Regions from separate parts of the Homo sapiens genome. Here all the other regions are linked to region 1. Evidence: promoter capture Hi-C in 16 types of primary human blood cells and fetal thymus (Javierre and others, 2016). All regions are on one chromosome and are shown on one strand. The core of a region is centred on a gene start or on the middle of the fragment in contact, and the rest is flanking DNA. Distances in the headings are between cores, read along the strand shown. Region 1 holds the start of KRTAP3-1 (keratin associated protein 3-1). Region 2 holds the start of KRTAP9-3 (keratin associated protein 9-3). Region 3 has its middle 15 kb from the start of KRTAP9-2. Region 4 holds the start of KRTAP4-3 (keratin associated protein 4-3).

Region 1 (3,311 bases), core at 523-3,022:
TTTAAAAGATGTCTTTTGGTGAGAAAGTTGGGAACTTCCATATGGCAGTAATGGTGAGAGTCTCTCATGTGTAACAGGTTGATGCTGTGGACACGGTGGTTTCTACACTTCAGGGCATCTGGTCCTCACAATAATCCTGAGACAAAAGCAGGGCAGAGAGTAATAACAAGCTAACTGAGCCTGTAGGAAACCAAGCTATAGGTAGGAAACCACGCTATAGGTAGGAAATCACTTTAATAACAGGGAAATTGAGACTGAGAGGGAAGCAATTGGCCCAAAGGCCAAAGGCAAGTCCAAAAGTGTGTGTGTGTGTATATATATATATATATATATAATCACAATACCTTTATTTTTTGCAAAGACCTAATTGCACCTAGATTTTTCTAAGATAAATAAGGACATGAATTAGTGGTTATCGTAGTAGTTTTGTTCTAATAGAAACTGTGTGTTTTTGCTCTCAGAATTGTGTGACTATTTCTGGTGTATAGAAAATACTACACTGTAGTCTGATATTTTAAGCATATTTCAATGTCATGATATTATATGTCACTTAGACTAGCAAACTTCTAATCATAGTCATGACTAATGTAAACCAATGTAAGCCCCATTTGAGGAATCAATGAATACTCGATAAATGCTAACATTAATTAAAAATGGATTGTTTTGGAAGACAGCATATATGAAGAAATGGATATATACACTTCTCAAAATTGCTTTGCATTTTGAGCTCAGAATTTCAGATGACTGTGAGGACTAGGATAATCAAATTATTTATACACACCAGCACAGTGATCAATTCATTTAGTCAATTAAGGAAGAAAGAAAAATCAATGTCAGAATCAATGGAAACTAAAATCAAGTATTTTTAAAACATTCTGTTAATCTCTAGACTCTAGCATAGTGCTTGCACAGTGGATGTCTTCCAATAATATCTATTAAATAAATATCTGTTAAATAAAAAGCTTCTATAAAATGAACTACCACATTTTTTACTTTTTAACTTATCACAAATAACCAGTATCTATTTTTTCGATAAATTCCACTATGAGAGCTCTTATTCTGTTGGGGTAAATCTTGGATAGTGTGATAACCTACTGTTCAGGTTTAGGTAGGCATTCCACTTTCCCTAATGGGAGACATGAAAATAAATAATCACAAGGTCATATTTGCTAAGCCAGAATAAAGTTTATTAACAAATGGTCAAAATGGTTATTTCTCAAAGAGTGATGAAATAGCCTAAAAGACAGAAGGGAGGTCTCCAATGGTACCCAAATGTGCAAATAATTAAGAAGATTCATCAAGACTTGGCCCCGGGGATTGGGATGGCCTTAGCCTTGATGTAGGCAGTAGTGAGTGCTGAAGCCCAGATGGTGCAGAGGACATTGGGCAGCCACCTCACGGAACCTGTGCAGACTCGGCTGGTTAACAGCGGGGCTCACAGGGACTCTCACAGCCAGGCTGAACATAGGTGGTCAGGTTGATCCCACTCAGTCCGGGAGTCGGGTGACAGTTGTTGAGCAGCCAGCAAGTTGGCACATAGGTATCAGGCTTGCAGCAGGGTGGGGGGCAGGTGTCACAGCAGATGGGCTGAAGGAGGCTGATCTCATGTGGGCAGGTGCTGGGTAGGCAGACTCCACAGCGGCAGCTTTTATCAAATGAGCAGAAGGTGGTGGCAGGGCCGGTGGGGACGCTGCAGGAGCGGAGAGCACAGCAATACATGGCAATGGGAGGTGGGTTTTTGTTGAGTTGAGAGAAGTCTGTTGGTGTCTCGATGCTCCTCTCTTCTGCTCTGGCTCTTATATACCCATCTCCCTGGGCGTCAGCCTATTACTGAGGGTTTTTCCCCCATGTTTCAGTTTATAGTTATTTCCATAAAAAATGCCTAATTACTTAAGTGTTTATTACCTAAGATACACTGCTCACCTCATAAAAGAGATTTAGGTTGTTTTGTTGTCAAATTAGGACTATTCACATTGCCAGTGTGTCACTACACAGAAATCTTCATTCCAGTCTTCAAAGGTACCGGGCCATTATCTTCTAATCATTATACCCTCACTAATAATGGCTCGGTATGCCAGGCATCTGCAAACGTTTCCCACTTCTTTTGTTTACTTTTCAGATGAAGAGGACAAGTAAGCTTTTTGTTTGCTGTTCTACCAGTGACTACAGGTTCTATGTGATCCTTTAGGCCCTCAGGCTGAAAAAGTGATATAACATTTTAGATTTATTATTTGTGGCTCCAATAAACTGAATGAAGATGAATGGATAGAATCTATAGAGAAATAGATTTTGGTTTTGTGTAAAGAGGCACTTTCAAACAGAGCTATAACAAATCGTTTGTTCTGCATTCCTTTCAAATATGCTCTGAACAATAACTTGGTAAGAACATGCAGGTGGGAATGAAGACCTTCATGGGTGACAAAGATGGGTGTCCTTTAAGCTCCATCCAACTGTGTTATAAATGGAGATTATTTATAACCAAAAGGCTGGTTGTATTGGGCCATTCAGAAGCTAAATGATGCAGTATTTACCAGACTGAGTTCCATGAACACTGGTTCCAAGGGACTTGAAAGTGTTTTCTGGTAAGTAAGTTTGGGAAATGCTGAATTCTTCATTGTTGGGCCTCTCGGAGCCTTTAATGTGCTAAAATGCTCTATGACTTTTCAATACAGAGATATAGCATATATTTTTCTCCAAACTTACTTGACCATGGACTGCTTTTTGTTTGTTTTCAGAGATTAGCTCTATAGGTCAGTGCTTTATGAAACATACTTGGGGAGATTTAGCAACATCTTACAGCAAGCTTGTTCAACCTGTGGCCCAGAAAGGCATTGAATGCAGCACAACACAAATTCATAAACTTTCTTAAAACATTATGAGATTTTTTTGTGATTTTTTTTCTTTTTTTGCTCATCAGCTGTCATTAGTGTTAGTGTATTTTATGTGTGGCCCAAGACAATTCTTCTTTCAATGTGGCCCAGGGAAGCCAAAACATTGAACACCCCTGTCTTACTTCCAGGCTCTGTGGTCCAGAATAGAGACATTTCCGAGTTTCATCTAAACCACTAAAACTCTAAAAATAAAGTTTTAAAAGTAGATAAAGGTAGAAAATTTAGTATGATGATTTAGAATTACTTTAGAATATGAAAAATACTAAACTGGTAAAACCTTTAGAAATGGCTTACTTAGAAAGGCTTAAAAACATGTACATATTTTCTTGACCCATTTTTTCAGATAAGATGGCTCAAGTTCTAAAGTAGAAAATTGCACAATGCAGAGGAATCAGAAGCCAAATGAGATGCAAATCAACA
Region 2 (3,311 bases), core at 481-2,980, 220 kb after region 1:
TATAAAAGGGGGAAATTCAGAGACAGCATGCATATAACAGAAAAATTATATCAAACACACATGGAAATGATAGACATCAACAAGTCAAGGAGAGAGACCTGGAACATGTACTTCCCTCACAGGCTTCAGATGAAAACAACATTGCCAAAACCTTAATTTCTGAACTGTGAAAAGATAAATTTAAGCCACTTGGTTTACAGTAATTTATTATGGCAGTGCTGGTAAGTTAATACACTTACTAAGTATCCTGAGCTATAGATATATTCTGCTACACTATATGGCTTAAAGATAATTACCCCTCACCAAATAGTAACTCCTTTCTCTGTCTGCTGCTCTGCTGACGGGAAGAGTCCAAAATGACTAGGCGATAACGATTCCTTTTGATTATAACAAAGAAACAGAGAAGCAAATACTATAATTTTTATTCACATGGAAATTTTAAAAAGCCAAAGTCATCTACTGGATTATAACTTGATAGAGTGATTAGCTGTTTGGAAATGAGTAAGCGGATATAATTGGGAGAGAATGGCATTAATTTCTATTTCCTAACCTGGTAATGGGGACATAGATGTATTTACAATGTAATACTATATCAGGTTGGAAATTAATAATTTGCATTCTTCTCAAGTGAATGATATACCTAGACAATGTTTTCAACATGTTAGAACTCCACGATGAATCAGGTGTCATCTCAACTCATCTAATCCCTTCATTGAAAAGAAATAGAAGAAATTACTTCTACTTACTTCTTCTTCTAGTTACTGCTAGTAACTAGGTTTAGGGCTAGAGCCACAGCACATGCTGGTTGGCCTGAATTTCAACGCTTACTTCTAGTTACTGCTAGTAACTAGGTTTAGGGCTAGAGCCAGAGCACATGCTGGTTGGCCTGAATCTCAAGAAGTTACGTGATAGAAAGTCCTCCATTCTCATCCCGGAAATCCCCACACTCCCAGACAAGTCAGAATGAATGGTCGTCCTAGGGCATACATTGCTTGATGCTGTCTAAATCTCAGCAGATTTCTCTGCATCCACCTGTTCTCGATCTGCTCTGTCGCATGGAACACACTGTGCAGTCACCGTCTTCCCAAGTGACATTCAAAGAACTGAAAGACACAGATGATGTGGGTGGCACAAAGAGATGCCTGTTAGTCTTGAGTCAGAATTTGGTGGGTGAATAGTCTTGGGCCCAGGCATGGATTCATTTTGTCACTGTAAATATATCAGCATCATGCTTCTCCCCACAGACACTTCCAAGTCTATATACAGCCAAACATGAGGCTGGCCAGAGAGAACTTCCTGAGCCCCCCGGATCAACAGGAACTGTCACATGACCAGATGATGGTCAGAGCAGGAATGATGCTGATGATGAGACGGGCTTCCTTTTATCTGAAACAAACTTTCTATGAGTAACTCACAATTAAGAAACAGATTAAACCCTTAGTTTAAAAGGTTCATAAGATTTCAGTAACAACTTCCCCTTTGACAATCCCAAATGGACTGTGGAAAACAATGTAAACAGCAACAAGGAAAAGTCCTGCTGATTGGTGGAAACTTTGGAGGCCAGGTGTATAAAAGGTCCAGATTGCAAGGGGTCATCAGATTTTGGGAAACTCACCTCTTAACAGAAGCCCACCCTCCATCCCTGACACCATGACCCACTGTTGCTCCCCTTGCTGTCAGCCTACCTGCTGCAGGACCACCTGCTGGCAGCCCACCACTGTGACCACCTGCAGCAGCACACCCTGCTGTCAGCCCTCCTGCTGTGTTTCCAGCTGCTGCCAGCCTTGCTGCCACCCAACTTGCTGTCAAAACACCTGCTGTAGGACCACCTGCTGCCAGCCCATCTGTGTGACCAGCTGCTGCCAGCCTTCCTGCTGTAGCACACCCTGCTGCCAGCCCACATGCTGTGGGTCCAGCTGTGGTCAGAGCAGCTCCTGTGCACCTGTGTACTGCAGAAGAACCTGCTACCACCCCACAAGTGTTTGTCTGCCTGGTTGCCTAAACCAGAGCTGTGGCTCCAACTGCTGCCAGCCCTGCTGCCGCCCAGCCTGCTGTGAGACCACCTGCTGCAGGACCACTTGTTTCCAGCCCACCTGTGTGTACAGCTGCTGCCAGCCTTCTTGCTGCTAATCAACTCCCAAGAGAACTACCATCCTCACACAACAACCTTCAGCTCAACTGACTTGTCTTTTGAGGGACTAATTTACTTTGCTGCTGACAGCCACCATGCTCTCACCCAAATTTTTATGAATTCTCTACATGTTTAAAATCTTGGGAATCTGCTTGAGGGAGGGCAGAATACTTCATCCTCATTCCCTCTTTCCTTACACCTTGTGGATCATGTGCCAGCTTCGTCTGTTCTTAATTTGGAGTCATGATCTCAGCTTTGTCTCAAAAATCAAGAGCTTCATTCTTTGCTTCTAAGGAATTTAGGTTTCTGCAACTGATCAATCATCTTTGCAATTATATTTTCATTTTAAATATCCTTCTCATGGTTCTTGTATCCTTCTTTCTTCTTTTCACGATAACTTTGGGTTATGTCTCTGGTAGCAGAGATTCTTACCTATATGTTTCTGAATAAACTCTGAACCATCTTCATCTCATATAGTGTTTTGTTTTATTTGAAAGCATTCCTGATATGGGATTTACACACATATCACATACCATAGGTATTATCCAATTTGATTCTCAAAACAGATGGTCGTGTATTATTAACTCCATTTTTTCAGCTGAGAACAATTTAATGTGTGATGTTATGTAGCTAGTAAAGGGCAGACTCTGGTCAAAGGTGAGGTCCTCTCTTTCTGCCCAAGGACACTTACGTTTAACTCCCAATATAGTAGAAAAGACACTGGAAGTCAGCACTAGCAAGACATGTACTTGAGTTTATTTAACAATGAGAGGAATAATCTGACATATTTGCAGATAACACTTTTGTTCACACACAAAAAAATCCCAAAGTAGTTCCCCACACCTCAGTGAGCAAAGGCTGCATGATATGCATTTAATGGCTGCCCTGAATGCAGAGATCTTTTTGTCTGAGCCTCTGACCAGCCATTCATTCAATTCATCTGCATCAAAAAATGCTTGAGAATTTATTGTGGACTCAGGAGACGGAGCCTCATCTGAAGAAACTTATTCTCAGTGTGATGTAAATAAAATTCTTATACAGCATCGGTCTCCTGAATACCAATTGACAAAGTAAATGAAACTAAGTTATTCATTGTAAAATACAGACCATACGTTATGCCACGTTAAGACAATTTGTCCCCTACTTGAAGTGTTATGAGTAAAATTATGTAAGAACAAAG
Region 3 (3,311 bases), core at 453-2,952, 200 kb after region 1:
TCTGACCCTTTAGGTAGAGAGAAGCATTTATTGGAACTGTGTGTGTGTGTGTGTGTGTGTGTGTGTGTGCATCCACTAGAGTTTCAGAGTTACAGGCTTCTCAAGCTCCAAGTCTGGGGGGTACTTGCAGCACAAAGAAAACCCAGAGAACCCCACCTTATTGTTCCTTAAGTCCTGAGGCTTCTAGCCTGGCTGCTTTCTTCACTCCACCTTTCAGAGTCCTCTCGTGTTTGCTTTATATATAATATCCAGAATTTTTAGTTGTACTTAGCAGAAAGAATATGGAAAAGTCTGTCCACTCCATCTTCCCAGTCAGCAAATCTTCAACTGGGTTTTAACTAAACATAATAAATGCATTTAAAGACATAAAGGAAGCTATTACCAATATAGACAAATACAAAAACACACACACACACAACATGAATAAGAACCAACCAGAGACTATCCTGCAACGGCATTAACATTTTGGTTTTGATCATTGGGCTGTGACAAGAAACACACACTGAAGTACATAGGGATAAAGTGGTATTTAGTGATAAAGGGAAATTCTATCTGCAACTTACTTTTAAAAACCAACAGTAGTAACACATATATGTATAGAAATAATGTTAAAGAAGCATGGTAAAATGTTAACATTTGAGGAATCCAAGTGAAGGCATATGGGAATCCTTTGTACTGTGTTTACAATTTTCTATGAGTATGAAATTATTTCAAAATGAAAAATTAATAAAAACAAACATGTATAATGGGGTAGGAGACACAAGCAGGCATAATATCTGATACTAAATTAATAATAGAGCATATAGTCATTAAAGTACACAATAAGTGAGATAAGCTGCAGAAGATATACTGACTTGGAAGACCAAAATGGAAGAATCTCTAATGTTAAGGAAAAAATGTGTAACTCAATTATAATGAAAATATTACATATCAAGACTTGTGGGGTGTTATAAAATGATCTTTGATAAAATGTACACACTTTAAATAGCCTTTAATATTTAAATATTAAACAAGAATAAAACCTAAAAATAAATGAACTAAGTGTTCACCTAAGTGAATAAGAAAAAGGAAAACAACCAAAATAGCATAAAATGTAAATCAATGAACTAGTTAAAAACGACATCACAGAGAAGATGAACAAAGCCAAAATTTCTTTTTCAAAAAAAATACCAATAAATGATAAGCCATTGAAAAGATTGATCAAGAAATGTAAAGAAGACACAAATAAATAATATTCTGGATGAAAATGAGAACATATCCAGCAATAAAGCTGAAAATGTTCCATAATCAAAGGAATCATAATCAAACCTGTTTCCAGTATTTACATGGAAAAGTATTTACATGGAAAAGATGAACTTGGATTCTGATCACTCATCATGTAGGAAAAAAATCAATTCCAGGTGTATCAATATCTTGAAGGTCAAAAAAAATCTTAAATCCTCACTAGATGATTTATGTGATTTTTTTTATTTTTAGGTAGATAAATACCTCCTGACCAAGACAAAAATATTATTATTCGAAAAGAAATGACTGATAATTTTAACTGGATAAAGCTTTAGAAAACTTAACCATCAAAAATCACATTTCAGACTGAGAGAAGGAATTGTGATAAACCCCTTTAACGCCTATCTCTCCTCTGCTCTCTATGTGGACTCTATTTCTTCTGGCATTTGGCCATAACAGCTGCAGCTGCTGCAGCAGGTGGACTGGCAGCAGGATGTGCTGCAGCAGCAATTTTGAAAACATACAAACCCATGTGTTTCTTTTTTTACCCCATGTGTCTTCCTTCAAGGATCATAACCCAAAGCTGATTGTCATCCAATATCTGCAAACAGTTGTTTTATATATTTACAAAGCTTTTATTATTGTTTATAGCAGGAGGATAAATCTTATACTAGCTTCTACATTACAGGTGGCATCACAAGCCCTCCCTAAACTTGGTTTTTAACTCATCACCATGACTCAACATCATCCTATCTTCAGAGGTACTTTCCAAAGTAAATAGCAATAAGGAAAAACAGATGGTGACTAACAATTGTCCTGACATCTCACTAAGCTACATAGGACCTGTTAGATGACCAAATACTGTACTCAGCTTTAAAAATGAGGATCAGTGCTTAATTGGTAGGGAGAATGATTCATTTCTCAGTTCAGGAAAATAGTCCTGACTGGTTATTTGTCAATTAAGAAAGCAAATAAATCAATTACTCAAAGAAAATTCACAGCACTGAATAGACAACTTCCTCCTTGGGACATTTCCCAAAAGACTAGAGAAGTATCAAAGACAAGTTCTGCTCATTAATCAAAACTTTGGGGTACCATGTATAAAAGGTTCAGATTGAATAACGTTATCAAACTCTAGGAAACTCACCTCTGAACAGGAGTGCACCCTCCACCCCTGACGCCATGACCCACTGCTGCTCCCCTTGCTGCCAGCCTACGACGTGCTGCAGGACCACCTGCTGTGTGTCCAGCTGCTGCCAGTCTTGTTGCCACCCCCCCAGTTGCTGCAACACATCCTGCTGCCAACCTAGCTGCTGTGCACCCGTCTACCAGAGAACGTGCTACCATTCCATGTGTGTCTGCCTGCCTAGTTGCCTAGACCAGATATGTGGATCCAGCTGCTGCCAGCCCTGCTGCCTGCTGCCCAGCCTACTGTGAGGCCACCTGCTGCAGGACCACTTGCTGCCAGTACACCTGTGTGACAAGCTGCTGCCAGTCTTCCTGCTGCAGCACACCCTGCTGCCAGCCCACCTGCTGTGGGTCCAGCTGTTACGGCCAAACTGGCAGTGGGTCCAGCTGCTGCCAGCCCAGCTTCTGTGCACCCATCTACTACAGGAGAACTTGCTACCACCCCATGTGTGTCTGCCTGACAGGTTGCCTAAACCAGAGCTATGGATCCAGCTGCTGCTAGCCCTGCTGCCAATCAGCCTGTTGTGTGTCTAGGGGCTGCCAGCCTTGCAGTTATTGATCAACTTACCACAGATTACTACCTGCATAGAATAAACTTCCATCATCAGACCAGCCAGGTATCCATTTATTCTTTTTTTTTTTTTTTTTTTTTTTGAGACCCAGTTTCGCTCTTGTTGCCCAGGCTGGAGTGCAATGGCATGATCTTAGCTCACCGCAACCTCCACCTCCTGGGTTCCAGCCATTCCCCTGCCTCAGCCTCCCGAGTAGCTGAGATTACAGGCATACGCCATCATGCCCAGCTAATTTTGTATTTTTCGTAGAGATGGGGTTTCTCCATGTTGGTCAGGCTGGTCTCAAACACCTGACCTCAGATGATCCACCCGCCTTGACCTCCCAAA
Region 4 (3,311 bases), core at 504-3,003, 160 kb after region 1:
TGGTCCTGCAGCAGCTGGGTTTGCAGCAGCTGGAGATACAGCAGGAAGGCCTGCAGCAACTGGAAATGCAGCAGCTGGGGCGGCAGCAGGTGGTCCTGCAGCAGCTGGGTTTGCAGCAGCTGGAGATACAGCAGGAAGGCCTGCAGCAACTGGAAATGCAGCAGCTGGGGCGGCAGCAGGTGGTCCTGCAGCAGGTGGTCTGGCAGCAGCTGGGGCGGCAGCAGCTCTCCTGGCCGAGACCTTGACCACAGCTCTGGTCAGAGCAGACAGAGCCACAGCAGGAGCTGACCATGGCGTCAGAGGGTGGAGGTTCTGGGTGGGTTCCCAGGAGAATGAGGTTCTGGAGTTTAGAAGTCTCCTTGAGCCTCTTATATACTGCCCCAGTTTCCTGTTGTCACTATATTTTTCTTGTTTTTGTTTATTTAATTGCTAAATAATTATCAGATTACACAATAATGTTTGTCCATTTAATGGCTTAAAATCATTGGGAAGAAAATATTCTTGTCCAGATGTAATAAGATCTATACCATCTACTTTTCCTTGATTCTCACCTTGATGGCATCTTCTAGACCAAATTATCTTCCTCTTCCTCTACACAGGGCTATCAGGTGATACTCTGCATTTGAAATTACATTTCTCACTCTCTTTTCCTGTACCCAGTACCAGAATGAGATTTAGTCAGTTACATTACCAATTATTCATTTATTCCATTGACCAAGGGAGAGGAAAGCCCTTCTACTCAGTGTGGCCTCTGGCCTGGGACAAGAAGAAAATGTCCTATTTTGAGTGTCATTTTTGAGCAATGAGGAAAGGTTTAATGGCCACACACAGACACCTCCTGCTTTATTCTGTTCATTCAAGCTTTACAGAAGCACCTGGCTCAAGGTCCTGCCTTGCTTATAAAACAGAGGCATTAAATGGATAATCTGAGAGACCCAAGTTGCCAGCCATTGGGATTACAAATTTGATGTAGATTCTCCTTCAGGGGAGTTCACAGCTTGCTAGAAGGAACACACACACACATACACACACACACACACAGTATTATACTGTGATAAAGTAACATCAAAGGAGCTCATTATAGTTTAATTAAAAGAATCATACTTAAAACAAATTAGCAAACATGACAATTTGGTGGATTAATTCATAAATAAATATTTTAATTTAGTTTGTGTCTATTTTTATGATATTGTAAAATTTACATACACTGAAATGAACAAATCCCAAATGTACTATTTGATGAGTTTTTATAAATGGGTACATCCATGTAACCTCCACACCTATTAAGATAGAGAATGATGTAATTTGGCTGTGTCCCCACCCAAATCTCATCTTGAATTGTAGCTCCCGTACTCCCCATGTGTCATGGTGTCGTGGTGTCGTGGTGTCATGGGAGGGACCCGGTGGGAGGTAATTGAATCAAGGGGGCTGATTTTTCCCATGCTGTTCTCATAATAGTGAATAAGCCTCATGAGATCTGATGGTTTTATAAAGACCAGTTCCCCTGCACATGCTCTTTTGCCTTCTGCCATGTAAGAGATGCCTTTGCTCCTCCTTCACCTTCTGCCATGATTGTGAGGCCTCCCCTGCCATGTGGAACTGCAAGTCTTTTTTAGAGACTCACAATTAAACCTCCTTTTCTTTATAAATTACCCAGTCTCTGGTATTTCTTCATGCAGTATGAAAATGGATGAATACAGAGAACATTTTCATTATACTAGAAAGTTCCCAAATGTCACTTCAGTAAACTCATCACTTCATAGAGGCAGCCATATGGGGAAATTATTAGCAATGTTCTAATAATTTTTCCACCATAGGTTAGTTTTGATTTGAACATTCAAACAAATTATATATAGCATAATTGTTTTTTCTGTCTGTCATCTTTGCCTTGATATGTGGCTGTGAGAGTCACAATGTTGATGCATGCATCACTAGTTCATTCAGAGCTATACTAATAACTGCCAGGGCTTCATTTTAACTATACCAACCAATGTCATGGTAGGGTGACCAGCTGTTTCTGATTGCCCAGTCTGAGGGCATTCCCTGAACTCAGGGCTCTCATTGCTAGAACTAGGAAGTCCCAAGAAGAAAGAGACAGGTTGTTCACTCTATGATAGCATCCTTAAATGTCTTAATTAAGATCATTAAAGACCAAACACCTTGCAATATTTCTGTCACATTAACTTGTTTAGCAAACACTTGATTTACAAGTCTTTACTTTATGGGCTGTGTTTGCAAAGCTGGAGAACATGAAAGATTGAAACAATTGTATTGTGAAGCCACATGGTGTCCTGAAGAGGCAGTTGTTCATTTGATTTGCTGTATATCAGGGGCTGAGGAAAAATTAAAAACATAAAAGAAAAAGGTTTTGATTATGAGGGGAGAGGTTTCTATATAAATTTATGGAGATTAAGAAAACCCTATTGCCACAGCTACAAAGGCAGGTACATTCTGAATGTAGGGAAATGTATGGAGAATCACAACCCCTCATCCAGGGGTTCTACAAGTTGGCTGAATATTAGAGTCACTCGGGGAGTGTTAAAAACTACTGATGCCTGACTCTTGCTCAGAAAAAATCTGACTTAAGTGCTGTGGGTTATGGCCTGGGCACCAGAATTTTTCAAGTTTCTCAGGTAAAGGGCAGCCAAGCTTGAGACCCATCTGCTTAAACTGTTGTATGACATACATTGTATAATATTCAACTGGAAACAGAAGCAACTAAAATAATTAAAATACAATTGGTAGTATCTACGTAGTAGAGAAAATGATACTGGATTTTAAACACTGAATTTGGAGTATTGTAAACTAAAACACTGATAATTATCTTTGCTATTTTAGATGACTCTAATACCAAAACTGACAGTCCACATGGATGATAATGGAACAACAGGGCATGAACCACCATGGGAAATTCGTATAGACAGCACACTGGATTTTTACAAAATGAGCCTCAAAAGCAGGCGAGATGTCTGTCACTGTATGTATTTGCTGCTAAATTCTACTCACTGTCTGGTGAAGCATACTTGATATTAACTTGAGGACCACACACACAAGTTACGCCAAGTCTATCTAAACTGTCCTTCTTTTATTATATAGACTAGCAGAAGGAGTGTAAGTTTTTCTTTCATATACCTTTTTAAATTTTAAACTAATTTTATGGTTGTCTTTTTAGAAGTTCATGATTAAAGACTTCACTTAGGTAAACATCAAGGAAATTAGAATGAAGTGAACCCAACTGATATTTGCAATCAACACTGAAGAACATGTGTTGTGTTTACCCCGCAACCTGGACGCATCGTATTAACATACCC

The links. The method cuts DNA at HindIII sites, captures the fragments that hold promoters and counts their contacts. A CHiCAGO score of 5 or more calls a contact.
Region 2: a fragment that was not itself captured here is called in contact with the fragment with the promoter of KRTAP3-1 in region 1 in 2 of 17 cell types (endothelial precursors and naive B cells); the score reaches 6.8 in endothelial precursors.
Region 3: a contact is called between a fragment that was not itself captured here and the fragment with the promoter of KRTAP3-1 in region 1, in 4 of 17 cell types (endothelial precursors, total CD8 T cells, megakaryocytes and 1 more). The highest score is 8.2, in endothelial precursors.
Region 4: a contact is called between a fragment that was not itself captured here and the fragment with the promoter of KRTAP3-1 in region 1, in 1 of 17 cell types (endothelial precursors). The highest score is 6.1, in endothelial precursors.

Annotation. Positions count from the first base shown.
Region 1 is chr17:41,007,356-41,010,666 of GRCh38, forward strand. It overlaps KRTAP3-1 (keratin associated protein 3-1), which reads right to left and starts at 1,773. Exons shown (of 1, transcript NM_031958.2): 1 at 1,166-1,773. The coding sequence starts at 1,719. The coding sequence ends at 1,423. The HindIII fragment of the contact is 1,175 bases long and covers 961-2,135 here.
Region 2 is chr17:41,230,852-41,234,162 of GRCh38, forward strand. It overlaps KRTAP9-3 (keratin associated protein 9-3), which reads left to right and starts at 1,598. Exons shown (of 1, transcript NM_031962.3): 1 at 1,598-2,603. The coding sequence starts at 1,651. The coding sequence ends at 2,130. The HindIII fragment of the contact is 5,484 bases long and covers 1-3,311 here.
Region 3 is chr17:41,210,300-41,213,610 of GRCh38, forward strand. It overlaps the pseudogene KRTAP9-12P. Among named protein-coding and RNA genes, the nearest start is that of KRTAP9-2, 15 kb to the right of the region's middle. The HindIII fragment of the contact is 303 bases long and covers 1,552-1,854 here.
Region 4 is chr17:41,167,881-41,171,191 of GRCh38, forward strand. It overlaps KRTAP4-3 (keratin associated protein 4-3), which reads right to left and starts at 341. Exons shown (of 1, transcript NM_033187.2): 1 at 1-341. The coding sequence starts at 292. The HindIII fragment of the contact is 1,788 bases long and covers 860-2,647 here.